4 separate regions of the Homo sapiens genome follow, and all the other regions are linked to region 3. Evidence: promoter capture Hi-C in 16 types of primary human blood cells and fetal thymus (Javierre and others, 2016). All regions are on one chromosome and are shown on one strand. Each heading gives the region's core, a stretch centred on a gene start or on the middle of the fragment in contact. The rest is flanking DNA. Distances are from core to core; before and after follow the strand shown. Region 1 holds the start of GIPR (gastric inhibitory polypeptide receptor). Region 2 overlaps QPCTL (glutaminyl-peptide cyclotransferase like). Region 3 holds the start of VASP (vasodilator stimulated phosphoprotein). Region 4 overlaps FBXO46 (F-box protein 46).

What was found. Contacts are between HindIII fragments. The CHiCAGO score rates a contact against its expected background, and 5 or more counts as called.
Region 1: a contact is called between the fragment with the promoter of GIPR here and the fragment with the promoter of VASP in region 3, in 12 of 17 cell types (naive CD4 T cells, endothelial precursors, activated CD4 T cells and 9 more). The highest score is 11.9, in naive CD4 T cells.
Region 2: a contact is called between a fragment that was not itself captured here and the fragment with the promoter of VASP in region 3, in 1 of 17 cell types (total CD8 T cells). The highest score is 5.6, in total CD8 T cells.
Region 4: a contact is called between a fragment that was not itself captured here and the fragment with the promoter of VASP in region 3, in 7 of 17 cell types (naive CD4 T cells, naive CD8 T cells, non-activated CD4 T cells and 4 more). The highest score is 6.8, in naive CD4 T cells.

Annotation. Positions count from the first base shown.
Region 1 is chr19:45,665,664-45,669,470 of GRCh38, reverse strand. GIPR (gastric inhibitory polypeptide receptor) reads right to left here and starts at 1,250. Exons shown (of 14, transcript NM_000164.4): 1 at 1,173-1,250. RefSeq lists an enhancer at 546-825 and a silencer at 1,206-1,365. The HindIII fragment of the contact is 25,981 bases long and covers 1-3,807 here.
Region 2 is chr19:45,700,187-45,704,221 of GRCh38, reverse strand. It overlaps QPCTL (glutaminyl-peptide cyclotransferase like), which reads right to left. Exons shown (of 7, transcript NM_017659.4): 6 at 2,308-2,424; 7 at 235-1,318. The coding sequence ends at 1,173. Among named protein-coding and RNA genes, the nearest start is that of QPCTL, 9.5 kb to the right of the region's middle. The HindIII fragment of the contact is 9,587 bases long and covers 1-4,035 here.
Region 3 is chr19:45,505,180-45,509,036 of GRCh38, reverse strand. VASP (vasodilator stimulated phosphoprotein) reads right to left here and starts at 1,558. Exons shown (of 13, transcript NM_003370.4): 1 at 1,261-1,558. The coding sequence starts at 1,265. It overlaps LOC107985314 (a long non-coding RNA gene), which reads left to right and starts at 1,663. Exons shown (of 2, transcript XR_007067269.1): 1 at 1,663-2,352. RefSeq lists silencers at 434-633, 1,228-1,407, 2,088-2,217, 2,248-2,497 and enhancers at 1,558-1,827, 1,109-1,893. The HindIII fragment of the contact is 2,487 bases long and covers 307-2,793 here.
Region 4 is chr19:45,718,351-45,722,287 of GRCh38, reverse strand. The region is part of intron 1 of FBXO46 (F-box protein 46); the gene reads left to right. Among named protein-coding and RNA genes, the nearest start is that of FBXO46, 11 kb to the left of the region's middle. RefSeq lists silencers at 1-217, 1-257 and an enhancer at 1,138-1,638. The HindIII fragment of the contact is 7,644 bases long and covers 1-3,937 here.

The sequences.
Region 1 (3,807 bases), core at 1-2,500, 160 kb before region 3:
GGTCCCAGGGCAAGGTCAGCACCTCTGCCCTCCTACTCCAACCCCAGCGTCACCCCGCCTCAGGGATTCACACACAGGGGCAGACGGCTGGGGAGCCGTATACACGCGGGACTCCGAGGCAGCGCACCCGCTCCCGCAACTCCCAGGCGTGATGATCTGGGGGGAGGGAGAGGCACGCGGAGTGGGTGGAACTCCGGTGGTGGGCGGGGCCCCTTAAGTGATTCCCCGGCCTCCCCTGACTGTTGTTGGGGCAGCAAAGGTGGAAGGGGGGGGTGTTTGCTGAGCGGGCGGTTGCCCTAGAGCTACGCTGGGCGGAAGTGTCAGTGTCACCGAAGTCTGGACCTACAGACTCCTGGGAACCCGGGGACCGCCTTGGAGAGGAGGGGGTAGAAACCGTCAGCCTAGACCCCTTTTCTATGGGGAACTGAAAAACTTGAAGGTTTTCAGTACCCCCTAGTGGGGTACTTGAAACGCCCATCTGAGTTCCCACAGCCTGGTGGAGAACTTGAAACGCCCATCCGAGCTCCCACTCTCCAAGCCCAAAGGGTTTTCTAGCACACATAGGAACCTGACCTTACAAAACTTTCCCCGCTGGGGGTAGATAAAGCCCAGAGTAAGTGGAACAACCCTTTCCCAGCATCCAAATACTTAGGGACTAGAGAAGCGACAGATCCGGGGTTAGATGTGCAGATGCCTGGAAATCGGTCTAACGCCCGACACCCACTCACCCGCGCCCCCGCGGCTCCACGTAGAGAAAGACGGAAGCAGAGAGGATCTCAGGTCGAGCCTCAGAAGGACAGACAACGGCGTCACAGACACAAGAGACAGAAATGTAAAGACTGAGAGGCGCAGAGACGGAGGGACAGAATGAGACCCCCAGCCAGAGACCAGAGAAAAACAAACAGAGAAAGAGACGCAGATGTGGGCTAGGAGACAAAGAAGAGGCAGAGACGTGGAGGGAGACAGAGCAGGGGAAAGAGAAGTTATCTAGCAGCTAACCAGAGATGGAAACACGCAGACAGAGACATCAAGAGACAGAGATGAGCAGAGATGGTGGTGGGCACAGAGACAGAGAGACAAAGGCAGGGCAGAGAAGCAGAGAGGGAGAGTGCCAGAGACTTGAGAGGTCAAGGGGGGGCAGGGAGAATGGGCTGGGATTGGGGAGCCCTCACCTGTCCCCAGTCCTGCTCCTGGTCACTTGCTCCTGCAGCCCCTGCCACCGCTGCCTCCAACTGCCTTGTCTCGGCTCTGGGAGAGGTGACAGGCGCTGGCAGCCCGGGGTGATGGGAGGGGGCGGGGCCAAGGCGGGACAGGGAACGGAAGCGGGGAGCTCTGGGGCAGAGAGCCGAGCAGGGGGCAGTCATCAAGGTCATGAGGGAGGGCAGTTACTGAATTGTCCTTATCGTCCTGAGGACCCCTGCACCAAGTGTGTACAATCTCTCATGCTGTCCCACCCACAGGTACCCGCCCCCACCGCCACTCATTCCCAGAGCCTCAGTCACTCAATCAAACATGCAGTGTCACACACAATCCCATAGGCTGAGCCATGGAAAGGCACAGTCACAGAACCTCACAAGCTGTTACTCACACAGTCACACATTCAGTCACACCCATACAGTCCCATGGTCACACCCAGACAGCCACAGTCTCTCACTCACAGGTGGACAGTCATCCACTGTGACACACAGTCATGTACCCAGGGCTATGGACTCCTGCACACACACAGTAACGCTCACAGTGTCTCACAGTTCCAACAACACTGTCAATCACCCACACATTCACGCAATCACCGGGTTTCATCACAAACACTGTTGCCCTGCTAGCCTGTGTGGCCCAGGAGGGTAGAGCCAGGACATCTGGGTCACCACTGGGTCCCCAAAATCGTTAAGAGCAGGGGTTCAAGGAAGGATTGTCATGAAATAAATATACGCAGTATGCAGTTGTGTGGTTACTCGCAGACATAGAATTTTTTTTTTTTGAGACAGAGTCTTCCTCTGTTGCTGAGGCTGGAGTACAGAAGCATGATCTCAGCTCACTGCAACCTCCGCCTCCTGGGTTCAAGCAATTCTCCCACCGCAGCCTCCCAAGTAGCTGGGATTCCAGGCACACACCACCACAACCGACTAATTTTTGTATTTTTAGTAGAGACGGTGTTTCACCATGTTGCCCAGGCTGGTCTCAAACTCCTGACCTCAGGTGTTCCACATGTCTTGGCCTTCCAAAGTGGTGGGATTACAGGCGACAGCCACCACACCCGGCCCATACAATCCTTTTTACATTTTATTTATTTATTTATTTATGAGAGTGGAGTGCACTGGAACAATTATAGCTCACTGCAGCCTCCACTTCCTGGGCTCAAGGGATCCTCTTAACTCAGCCTCTTGACTAGCTGGGACTATGGGCATGAGCCACCATGCCCCACCATTTTATTAAAAAATAATTTCAACTTTTTTTTTTTTGAGACAGGGTCTCACTCTGTCACCCAGGATGGAGTGCAGTGGCGCCATCTTGGCTCACTTCAACCTCCGCCTCCAGGGTTCAGGAGATTCTCCTGCCTCAGCCTCCCGAGTAGCTGGGACTACAGGTGTGTGCCACCACACCCAGCTAAAATTTTTGTATTTTTAGTAGAGATGGGGTTTCACCATGTTGGCCATGCTGGTCTCCAACTCTTGGCCTCAAGCAATCCTCCTGCCTCGGCCTCCCAAAGTGCTGGGACTACAGGGATGTGCCATCACACCCAGCCTCAACTTTTATTTATTTATTTATTCATTTATTTTAATTCATTTTATTTATTATTTTTTCTAGACAGGGTCTCACTCTGTCACCCAGGCTGGAGTGCAGTGGCGCCAACTTGGCAACCTCTGCCTCTTGGGTTCAGGCGATTCTCATGCCTCAACCACCAGAGTAGCTGGGACTACAGGTGTATGCCACCACGCCTGGCTGATTTTTATATTTTTAGTAGAGATGAGGTTTCACCATGTTGGCCATATTGTTCTCCAACTCCTGGCCTCAAGTGATCCTCCCGCCTTGGCCTCCCAAAGTGCTGGGATTACAGGTATGAACCACCGCGCCTGGCCTTAACTTTTATTTTAGATTCAGGGGGCACATGTGCAGGTTTGTCACGGGGGTGTATTGCACGATGCGGAGGTTGGGGGTATAAATGATCCCATCATCCAGGTAGTGAGCATGGCACCCAACGGGTAGTTTTTTAACCCTTGTCTCCTTCCCTGCCCCCTCTAGGAGTCCCCAGTGTCTGTTGTTCGCATGTTGGTGTCCATGTGTACCCAGTGCTCAGCTCCCACTTATAAGTAAGAGCATCTGGTGTTTGGATTTCTGTTCCTTTGTTAATTCACTTAGGATACTGGCCTCCAGCTGCATCTGTGTTGCTGCAAAGGACTTTCCTTTCCTTTTCCTCTCCCCTCTCCCCTCTCCCCTCCCCCCTCCCTTCCTCCCTTTCTCCCTTTCTCTCTTTCTTTCTTGGGATGGAGTCTCACTCTGTCGCCCAGGCTGGAGTGCAGTGGCACGATCTCAGCTCACTGGAACCTCTGCTTCCCAGGTTCAAGCAGTTCTCCTGTCTTAGCCTCCCAAGTAGCTGGGATTACAGGCGCCCGCAACCATGCCCGGCTAATAATTTTTTTTTTTTTTTTGGCCGAGTCTCCCTCTGTAGCCCAGGCTGGAGTACAGTGGCGTGATCTTGGCTCACTGCAATCTCCACCTCCCGGGTCCTGGTTCAAGCAATTATCCTGCCTCAGCCTCCCGGGTAGCTGGGATTACAGGCACGCGCCACCATGCCCAGCTAATTTTTGT
Region 2 (4,035 bases), core at 113-2,612, 200 kb before region 3:
ATTACCCACTGGGTCTGGAAGAATCTGGACTTCCAAAATATGAGCTTCTGTCTCCTCTGTGCCTGGTTATGAGGACATCCTCTGTGTGCCCCGTGTGGGAGTTAGGTTAGGACTGGTGCAGTAGCAAGGCTGCTGTTCTGGAGAATGAACTGACACAACACAAACCACAGAGAATTCATCTAGCTGGGTGGCATCACTGGGCCAGACCAGTAATAGTCTTTTAGTCTTTTACTCTTTTTAAAAAATATTTATTTATTTATTTATTTATTGAGATGGAGTCTCGCTCTGTTGCCCAGGCTGGAGTGCAGTGGTGTGATCTTGGCTCACTGCAACCTCCGCCTCCTGCGTACAAGTGATTCTCCTGCCTCAGCCTCCCAAGCAGCTGAGATTACAGGCGCCCACCACCATGCCCAGCTAATTATTGTATTTTTAGTAGAGACAGGGTTTCGCCATGTTGACCAGGCTGGTCTCAAACTCCTGACCTCGGGTGATCCTTCCCCCTCAGCCTCTCAAAGTGTTGGGATTACAGGTGTGAGCCACCACACCCAGCAGTCTTTTACTTTTTCAGTTCGCTGACTTAAAGAACAGCATTTTGCCAGGTGCGGTGGCTCACACCTGTAATCCCAGCACTTTGGGAGGCCGAGGCTGGCGGATTACAAGGTCAGGAGATCGAGACCATCCTGGCTAACACGGTGAAACCCCGTCTCTACTAAAAATACAAAAAATTAGCCAGCGTGGTGGCGGGCACCTGTAGTCCCAGCTACTTGGGAGGCTGAGGCAGGAGAATGGCGTGAACCCAGGAGGCGGAGTTTGCAGTGAGCCGAGATCGCACCACTGCACTCCAGCCTGGGCAACACAGTGAGACTCCGTCTCAAAAAAAAAAAGAACAGTATTTGGTCCCTGCAAACCTTTGGACCAAGTGTTTACCTCTGGGGAGGGAGCAAGTTCTTATTCCTCTGGCTGTCATCCCACAGTGGTCTCTTCCCTGTCCTTGAAGGGTGGCAGCTTGAGACAATCAAAAGAAAGAAGGTCTTCCAATTGTAGCACAATTAGGAGACAAAGGTATGAAAAGGACAAACCAGCACACCCTAGGCAGATCCTGCCTGAGCTTCACTGGCCCCCGCTGGGACCTTCTCTCTCACAGTCCTCTCCACAGTCATTGGCCAAGCACGCTAGAGCCCCAGGTATTCAGCCAGGAACACAGCGAGAATGCGGCACAAGTTGTGTACCGTGGGTGGGTGGAGATTGACCTCGGTGTCCGCAGGGGTGTGCCAGACAGCAGGGAAGGGCGTGGAGATGAGATGGAGCACGGGTACCCCTGAAGTGACAGAGGAGACTTTGTCAGGTCCACTGCAGCCCACCACAACCCAGGAGCCCAAGCCCAACCTCTAGGTAACCTTGCCTTGCCACCACACACTGGTGAAAGATACTATGTTCTGGCACTTTTTTTTTTTTTTTGAGACAGAGTCTCACTCTGTCGCCCAGGCTGGAGTGCAGTGGCGTGATCTCGGCTCACTGCAGCCTCTGCCTCCCAGGTTCCAGCGATTCTACCGTCTTAGCCTCCCGGGTAGCTGGGATTATAGGCAGGCACCACGACACCTGTCTAATTTTTGTATTTTTAGTAGAGATGGGGTTTCATCATGTTGGCCAGGCTGGTCTCAAACTACTGACCTCAGGTGATCTGCCCGCCTCAGGCTCCCAACGTGCTAGGATTACAGGTGTGAGCCACCATGCCCAGCCTGGCACTTTTTTTTTTTTTGAGATATCATCACCCTCTGTTGTCCAGGCTAGAGTGCAGTGGCTCAATCAAGGCTTACTGCAGCCTTGACTTCCCAGGCCCAAGTGCTCCTCCCACTTCAGCCTCTCGAGTAGCTGGGACTATAGGTGTGAACCACCATGCCCGGCTAATTTTTTTGTATTTTTAGTAAAGACAAGATTTATGCCATGTTGCCCAGGCTGGTTTCAAACTCCTGGGCTCAAGGATCCCCCCCCGCCACCCCGCTCAGCCTCCCAAAGTGCTGGGATTACAGCTGTGAACCACCGTGCCCAGCTGCAAACATTTCTGGAATGCTTGCTATGTGCTGGGTGCTGGTCCAAGTAAGGTCTTTACCGGTGTTAGCATGTTCAATCCCCTCAACAATACTCTAAGATAGGGAGTATTATCCCCATTTTACAGATGAATAAATCAAAGCACAAAGAGGTTAAGGCCACTTAGCACCATTCCCCAGCCCTGGGAAGGGGACTTGGCCAGTTCCAATTTGTGGCTTCCTTGGACACCCACCCTCCATCCCTCCCTGCAGCTGGTACCTCTGCGGAGGAAGGGGATGTGGTCGTCTTCCACAGAGCCAAAGGGCTCCCCGGGTTGGAAGTACATCACTTCCTGGGGATGAGACTGCAGCAGGTTCAAACGGTGCAGACGCTTCTCTGGAAGTGGGGGCGATTAGAGAGGAAGGGTTAGTCCTTAGTAGTCGAAGGTCCCCAGTCCACAAATCAGAGGAAGGCAGAGCACCCAGAGACAAAGCCCTGGTCAGCCCAACAAGAGTGAATGCCAGTTACTCCTTCCTGTGGGCTCACTATGTTCCTGGTCTCATTCAATCCCTCAGAGTCTAAGACATAGACATTCTTTTTTTTGAGACAAGATCTTGTGGCCTGGTGTGGTGGCTCATGCCTGTAATCCCAGCACTTAGGGAGACCAAGGCAGGTGGATCACCTGAGGTCAGGAGTTCGAAACCAGCTTGGCCAACATGGTGAAACCCTGTCTCTACTAAAAATACAAAAATTAGCTGGGTGTGGTGGTGGGCGCCTGTAATCCCAGCTACTTGGGAGGCTGAGGCAGGAGAATTGCTTGAACCTGGGAGGTGGAGGTTGCAGTGAGCTGAGATTGCACCACTGCACTCCAGCCTGGGTGACAGAGTAAGATTCTGTCTCCAAAAAAAAAAAAAAAGATCTTGCTCTCTCACCCACACTGGAGTGCAGTGGGACAATCCCAGCTCAGTGCAGCCTTAATCTCGCTGGCCTAAGTGATCCTTCAGTCTCAGCCTCCCAAATAGCTAGGACTTCAGGCGCATGCCCCCATGCCTGGGTAATTGTGTGTGTGTGTGTGTGTGCGCGTGTGTGTAGAAATGGGATCTTCCTGTGTTGCCCGGGCTGGCCTCAAACTTCTGGGTTCATGTGATCTTCCTGCCTTGGTCACTCAAATTTCTGGGACTACAGGCATGAGCCACTATGTCTGGGCCCTCCGGCCTTTTTTTTTTTTTTTTTTTTGAGACAGAGTCTTGCTCTGTCGCCAGGCTGGAGTGCAGTAGCACAATCTCGGCTCACTGCAACCTCCGCCTCCCGGGTTCAAGCAATTCTCCTGCCTCAGCCTCCTGAGTAGCTGGGAGTACAGGCGCCCACCACCACACCCAGCTAATTTGTGTATTATTAGTAGAGATGGGGTTTCACCATATTGGCCAAGCTGGTCTCGAACTGCTGACCTTGTGATTCGCCCACCTCGGCCTCCCAAAGTGCTGGGATTACAGGCATGAGCCACCAGGCCCGGCCCCCACTGGCCGTTTTACAGATAGGAAACTGAGGCTCAAAGAAATGAAGCCACTTGTCCAAGTTCATCCAGCTGGTAAGATTGGAAACCACGGCTGTCTCACCTTAGAGCCCCTGTCTGGTAATCACTATTACTAATCTCTAGTTCCTTAGAAAGGCTAGGGAGGTAGAGGAAAGGCTGGGTGAGCCTTTATTTTATTTTCTTATTTATTTATTTGTTTATTTATTTATTTATTTAGTGACAGAGTCTCGCTCTGTCACCCAGGCTGGAGTGCAGTGGCACAATTTCAGCTCACTGCAACCTGTGCTCCCAGGTACAAGCGATTCTTCTGCCTGAGCCTCCGGAGTAGCTAGGACTACAGGCACACGCTACCACACCCAGCTAATTTTTGTATTTTTAGTAGAGATAGGGTTTTACCATATTCGCCAGGCTGGTCTCAAACTCCTGACCTTGTGATCCACCTACCTTAGTCTCCCAAAGTATTGGGATTACAG
Region 3 (3,857 bases), core at 309-2,808:
CAGGCTGGGGGCTTTGGGGCAGGAAGTCCCAGAGAGAGTAGAGGAAGGGAGATAGTATTGTCAGGCTCTGGCCCCATGGGAGAGATTATGGGGGGCCAGGGGAGGGAAGAATAGGGGGGATGGTTGGGCCCCCCTGCCCACACTGGCCCCGCCCTCAGGTGAGCCCAGGAGTTCGGGGGAGGCCCCGGCCAGACCAAATCCCTGGGTCCCTTGGGCCGCCACCCCCAGGATTAAATTCCTGGGAAGATAGCTGGAATTATCTGGGAAGCCTGGGTCCCTAGGGAAGAGGGCTATGACCTTGAAGCTTTCCAGCTCCCCCTCCTCCAACCCCAAGGCTCCGGGTGGATAGGGGGACGGTGAGCAAAGGGGGAGGGGCCGTGGTGGGGAAGGCAGCCGGCCTACAGCGCTTGGTGCCCGCCCCCCACACCAGCTGTCTCGACAGGTGAGTCAGGAAGACAAAGGCCCCCTTCCCCCAGCTGCCGCGCCCCCTCCCTCTCCAGGGCCGCGCAGGTGGGGGAGCCGGGCCGCCCTTATGGCCGGAGGCGGGGAGCCGCCCTCTGCTCCGAGCGCCCGCTCGGTCCTAGGCACGGCCAGTTAAGCAGATTGTGTGCGGAGCGACGGGGAAGGGGGGGGTCCCACCAGACTCTGGAGGCTGCGTCCAGGTCCCTGGATCGGTTCACACCAGCCTCCTCCACAGGAAGACCTAAGTGACCCCCAAAATCCAGGGGATTAAGAAGTACCCCCGAAGTTATGGAGCGCGGTCCCACTTGGGGAGACTTTTTCCAGCACCAAGTAAACGGGGGACCTGCACACCCAGGGTCTGAGTCTCAGTCTCTCTTCCAAGTCCCAGGGTATCCCAAATCGGTCCCCCACAATCCTTCCCGGACCTCGAGCTGAAGTCTGGGGGGAGGGGGAGGAGAGTCTGAGCCCTGCCTCAATCCTGGCATCCCTGCGGGGAGTCGCTGCCAACTTTGAGGTCCTCTAAAAAAAGTCTTAACAATTCGGGAGTCCTCCGAGCGCCCCCAAATCTTGAGGGCTCCCAGGAGAACCTCACCGCCACCACCCCCCGAGCTTGGGGAGTCAGTCGTGGAGAAGTGATCGACGGTTCTGGGGCGCGTCCAAGGGGATTCAGCTCAAATCCGAGGCTCCCAAGGATCTGTCCCCAAATTCCAGCCCGGAGCTAGCTGGGGGGGAGGGGGACAAAGGCGGGGCGCGGAGCCCGCCCGGGCGGGGACGGGTCGGGGGGCAGGTCCGGCTCACCTCATGGCTGCTCGGCGGGCGGGCGGCTCGCCCACGGGCTGGCTGCTCCCGGGGCGCCCCTGGCTGGAGGTTCAGGGGTTCGGGGCTGGCTCCGGGCTCGGCTCAGGCTCCCCCAGGGTCCCGCCCCATAGAGTCCGGCTTCCTGGGGAGAATGTGGACCGGGCCGGGGCGGGTCTCCGGGCGCCGCTTCCCTCAGGCGGTCTGATGAGAGGTTCCTGCAGCAGAAAGGGGATGCAGCGTCCGCTCCCCAGCGCGCACCCCTTGCCGGTGGCGGCTACAGTGTTACTCTTACTACTGTACTTCTCTTCGTTACATTTCGTTCCAAAATTCCACTCCCCGCACCCACAATGCCCCGCGCCTTAAAGGGGCCGCGTGCGCCTCCAGGCGAGGGGGTGGAGGGCGCTTAAAAGGGCAACTCTGCACCCTCGGCTTCCGCGATCTCGCTCCTCTCCCCAATGTTGTAGCCCAGGGGTGCACCCTGGGAATCACCCCCACCTGAGGGGCAAGTTGGTGAAGGGGAAGGGGACCTCCCTTGCTTCCTAGTTCGCTCCCACTGTGGGAATTCTGAGGAGGGTCTCGGAAGGGGCGCGATTTCTTTCCCCATCGACTTCTCCATCTCGTACTCCGCTCAATTTTGGGGGTCGAGGAGGACCCTCAAGTTAAGCAAGTGGTCTCAGATTTTCTCCCTGAAATCCCATCTTCGGAACACCGCCCCTCCCCAGCGTTTCTCTTCTGTCAATTTCGGAGAGGTTACTAAGGGGGCGAGACCCCCACCCGCACGGGAGTGGAAGTCGGGGGAGTAGGGCCCAACCCCTCTCACCCCACCCCGCCCGCCCCGGGAAGGTGAGGAGGAAGTGGGCCAAGGGGGCGCGGTCGGTCGCTGACTCACAGCCGCAGGGTCGGGGGTGGGGTGGGGTGGAGGTGGGGACTGGCGAGGAGTGCGGGAGTGGGGGGCCCGGCATTCGCCCGGGGTGGGCAGGAGGCGCCGGCTTCTTTGGTGTGTAAAGCCTCCGGCCCACGCACGCCCCGCTCTGACTCAGTTTCGCCTGCGGAGGACAGCAGGATCATCCCAGCCCTCAGGAGGGCCCGGAGGTGAGGAGACCCTCCCGGGAGCCCCCGCCCCCACACGCCGGCTCCGGGCTGAGCCCAGACACCCTCTGAGGCTTCCGCAGCGTGTCTTGCCGGCCCCGCCCCGAGTGACGTCACTGATTTGGTCGCGCCCCTTGGGTAGAGCGCCACCTGGCCCGGGTGAGGCGCCCGAGCCCTGGGAAATCAGTTAGTTCCACATTTACACACGGGTAAACTGAGGCCTGGAGACAGGGAATGAATCTGGCCTATGGCCCTCTTGCCTGAGCCCCCAGAACCCGGAAAGCCACCAAGGTCTGAGTGTAAAACCAACAATTCTCAGGGCCAGCTGACTATGTGAGAGAATCCACTTTTCCAGCGTATGTCCAAGCCGAGTCCCATGTCCGGATGTTGATGTTGTCCTGACCTCCTTTACCTGGGGAGCACGTCATCCTTCCAGGCCAAGCTTTGACATTAATTCCCCTCCCCTTCTCCACCCCACTCTGGGAGACCTTGAACCCTGTTCCTCGGAGGTTATCATTGTTTCTCAGTGTGTTTCCTCAGGCTGAGTTGTCTGGGAGAATGGGTAGACTAAATTTCTTTTTTTCTTTTTTTTTTTTTGAGATGTAGTCTCTCGCTGTCACCCAGGCTGGAGGGCGCTGGCTCGATCCCCGCTTACTGCAACCTCCCCCTCCTGGGTTCAAGCAATTCTCCTGCCTCACCCTCCTAAAGTAGCTGGGATTACAGGCACGGGCCACCAAGCCCAACTAATTTTTGTATTTTTAGTAGAGATGGGATTTCACCATGTTGGCCAGGCTGGTCTCAAACTTATGACCTCAGGTGATCTGCCTGCCTCAGTCTCCCAAAGTGCTAGGATTACAGGCATGAGCCACTGCACCCAGTTGACTTAATCAATTTCTGGACCTCACTCACCCCAGCCAGGCCCGCCCGGCTCAGCAGCTCAACAAACTTACCTAGTTGAATGAGTTACCAGTTCAGTGTGACCTTGGGTAACTGTGTTCTCCTCTCTGGGTCTCAGCTTTCCCATCTGTGACATAGGAGGGGTGGCATTTCTGGGTGCCACCTACACTACAACAACAGTCAGCAAACATGGTTTTTTGTTTGTTTGTTTGTTGGAGACAGGGTCTTTGTTGCCCATGCCGGAGCGCAGTAGCATAACCAGGGCTCATTCGATCCTCTAACCTCAGCCCACTGAGTAGCTGGGACTGTAGGTCCACACCACCATGCCAGGCTAATTTTTTGTAGAGACAGGGTTTAGCTGTGTTGCCCAGGCTGGTCTCAAACTCCTGGGCTAAAGTGATCAGCCTGGCTCAGCCTCCCAAAGTGCTGGGATTGGAGGTGTGAGTCACCAGGCCCAGCCGGCAAACATTTTCTGTAAAAGTTCAAATAGGAAATATTTTAGATATGCTAGACATAGGGTCTGGTTTACACACTCTTCAGTTTTTCTTTTTTCTTACAAGGCTTAAAAACTGTAAAAAAAACTCTTCTTAGCTTAAGTGCTGTACAAAACA
Region 4 (3,937 bases), core at 793-3,292, 210 kb before region 3:
CAGGATCTCAGGGCTTGGATGATTCCTGCCTTCAGGGACCATTAGTCAGAAAGGAAAACTTAAAAGGGAGGGGACCCAGTGGACTCTAAGGCCAACAAGCCATGGGTGAGGTATGGATGAGTCAGGATTCTGGACAAAGGAGCAGCAGGGTAGGGCATAGAAGGAACAGGGACCGGGCGCGGTGCATCATGCCTGTAATCCCAGCACTACGGGAAGTGGGTGGATCATCTGAGATCAGGAGTTCAAGACCAGCCTGGCCAACATGGTGAAACCCTGTCTCTACTAAAAATACGAAAATTAGCCGGGCATGGTGGCAGGTGCCTATAATCCCAGCTACTCAGGAGGCTGAGGCAGGGGAGGTGGAGGTTACAGTGAGACGAGATCGTGTTACTGCACTCCAGCTTGGGCAACAGCACGACTCCATCTCAAAAAAAGAAAAAAAAAGGGTGGGGTGGTGCCGGGCGTGGTGGCTCACGCCTATAATCCCAGCACTTTGGGTGGATCACGAGGTCAGGAGACCGAGACCATCCTGGCTAACATGGTGAAACTCTACTAAAAATATAAATAATTAGCCGGGTGTGGTGGCGGGCGCCTGTAGTCCCAGCTACTTGGGAGGCTGAGGCAGGAGAATTGCTTGAACCCACGAGGCAGAGGTTCGAGTGAGCCGAGATCGTGCCACTGCACTCCAGCCTGGGTGACAGAACAAGACCCTGTCAAAAAAAAAAAAAAAAAAAGGAACAGGACCAGGAACGAAACCCTGGTGTCCTGCCACCAATTCCCATGTAACTGGGCAAGTGCCTTGTGCTGGGTGTGACCCTGGCCCTGTGATGGGGAGCGGGGTCATCTGACTAGGGGTGGGGATGGGGAAGTGGGGTGGGGTCAGACATCTACGCTTTACCATTTATCATTATTTTTCCATTCTTTCTTTCTGTTTTGGTGTTTTTGAGCCAGGGTCTCGCTTTGGCACCCAGGCTGGAGTGCAGTGGCAAAATCTCAGCTCACTGCACCCTCCACTTCCGGGCTCAAGCGATCCTCCCACTTCAGCCTCCCGAGTAGCTGTGACTGCAGGCACATGCTGGCTAATTTTTGTATTTTTAGTAGAGACGGGGTTTTGCCATGTTGCCCAGGCTGGTCTCAAATTCATTGGCTTAAGCGATCTGTCTGCCTCGGCTTCCCAAAGTGCTGGGATTACAGGCGCGAGCCACCACACGTGGCCTATTTTTCCTTATTTGTTTGGTTTATTCTGTTGTTTTTTTCCCCGCTTCACTTCTTTTTTTTTTTTTTTTTGGCTGAGAGTCTTGCTCTGTCACCCAGGCTGGAGTGCAGTGGTGCAATCTCGGCTCATTGCAGCCACGCCTCCTGGGTTCAAGCAATTCTCCGATTCTCCTGTCTCAAGCTCCTGAGTAGCTGGGATTACAGGAGCCTGCCACCACATTACAGGTGTGAGCCACTGCGCCCAGCCAGGATGATGTTTATATTGTAGTTTAGACCTTGAGCTCTGGAGTCAGCTGATCTTTGATTCTAAGTTCTGACTTGGTGTGGTTGCTCCTGCCTGTAGTCCCAGCACTTGGGGAGGCCAAGGTGGAGGATTGCTTGAGTTCAAGAGTTCAAGACTGGCCTAGGCAACATAGTGAGACCTCATCAGTACAAAAAAATGTAAAAATTAGCTGGGCGTGCTGGTATACACCTGTGGTTTCAGCTCCTCAAAAGGCTGGGATAGGCTGGGCACAGTGGCTCACACCTGTAATCCTAGCACTTTGGGAGGCTGAGGCGGGTGGATCACTTGAGGTAAGGAGTTCAAGACCAGCCTGATCAACATGGTGAAACCCTGTCTCTACTAAAAATACAAATATTAGGCCAGGTGCAGTGGCTCACGCCTGTAATCTCAACACTTTGGGAGGCCAAGGTGGGGTGGATCACCTGAGGTCAGGAGTTCGAGACCAGTCTGGCCAACATGGTGAAACTCCATCTCTACTAAAAATGAAAAAATTATCTGGACATGGTGGCGCACACCTGTAGTCCCAGCTACTTGGGAGGCTTAGGCAAGCAAATCGCTTGAACCGGGAGGCAGAGGTTGCAGTGATTGCAGTGAGCCGAGATCGCACCGTTACACTCCAGCCTGGGCAACAGAGCAAGACTCCGTCTTAAAAAAAAAAACAAAAAAGAAGGCAGCTGAGATGGGAGGATCACTTGAGCCCAGGAGATTGAGGCTGCGTTGAGGCGAGATTGCACTCCAGCCTGGGTGACAGTGAGACCATCTCAGAAAACAACAAAAAACAAAACACACACTCACAAAAACAGAGTTCTGCTACAAAGCTATAAATGAGGGCAATTACTTAGCCATTCTCTGCCTCAGTTTCCTTATCTTCAACACGAAATTAAAAATAGGAGATAGAAGAATCAAACAAGTTCATATTTGTAGAGTGCTCGAGTATTGACTGCTGTTGTGATTATCATTTTCTAATATATTCATGTTGGTTCTGACTGTTTGTTTGGATGTCTGACCCCTTTCCCATGAGCCATTCCTGGGGAGCTCAGTGTCACCTGTGTGTTCCAGCGCCCAACAATGGCCAGCATGCAGGACCACAGTGAATGTCAGAGACAAGTTTTTGCAAATGCACCATGTATGTATGTATGCTAGGGATGTAAATATGTGGATTATTTAATTGTTGGGGGCATTCAACCAAGGGTGTAGATTGAGTGGTTCAGGTCCTTACTAATTTTCCCAAGCAGTCTTTTCTTAGAAATATGTTGTTTTCCCATATCAATTGTGGATTTAACAAACTTTCCCTTGTCATTTGTAAGTTTATGGCTGTCATGTGTAGAGATGGTCGTTTTTTGCTTTATCTATTTGGAAGCCATAGTATTTGGATCATGTATGTTGAGAACTTTTGTGTATAATGGGTCACTTCCACCTCCCTCCCCCAGCCCTAGGGACTCATGTAGAGAAGTAAATAATTGGTCATTTTGTTTCGTCATCATCCATTGCTTTTGTCAGTTTATTTATTTTTTATTTATTTAATTTATTTTTAATTTAATTTAAGACAGTCTCGTGCTGTCACCCAGAGTGGAGTGCAGTGGCCTGATCTGAGCTCACTGCAGCCTCTACCTCCTGGGCTCAAGCAATCCTCCCACCTCAGCCTCCTGAGTACTTGGGACTACAGGCACGTGCCACCACACCCTGCTAATTTGTGTATTTTTTGTAGTGATGGGGTTTCACCATGTTGCCCAGGCTGGTCGCAGACTCCTGAGCTCAAGGGATTGTGTCCCCCCTCTGCCTCCCAAAGTGCTGGGATTACAGGTGTGAGCCACCGTGCCTGGCCAAGTTTTTTTTTTTTTTTTTTTAAGGGGTAATGTTACTCCTCTACTTGTCTCTTGGTTCGTGTTTTCCCAGCCAGTTTTTTGCCGTCTTTTGATTTTCCATATTTTTGGTTCACAATGTTTTACAATGAATAGATTTTCATGGAGTAGTTGCTGAAGGCTGACCTAGTGTAGGGCCTTATGCTGGGCTCAGTGTGGGGGAGTTAGAAGATCCTGTCTCAGGCCTGGAGAGAGACCCACCCCAGACGATGACCCAGAGTAGGCAGGGAAGAGGGAACCCAGAGGTCCCCTCTGGGCAGGTGGGTGATTTCCAGGAAGGGAGTTGGAGAAGGCCTCTCTAATAAAACTGCATTTGAACACAGACCTGAATGAAGTAAGGAATTGAGCCTTGCAGAGGGGGAATGTATTGCAGTTGGTGGGAACAGCAAATGCAGAGACCAGGGAAGGCAAGAGCCCGGTAACTTTGAGGAATAGACAGCAATGAGCCCACCGCATGGACGCCCTGGGTGAAGCCTGACCTGGCCTAGGGGGATTGGGGGTGTCAGCTTCTTAGAGGAGGGGTGGTCGAGCTGAAACCCCAGGGAATATATAGTGAAACAGTAGGGCACAGTGACTA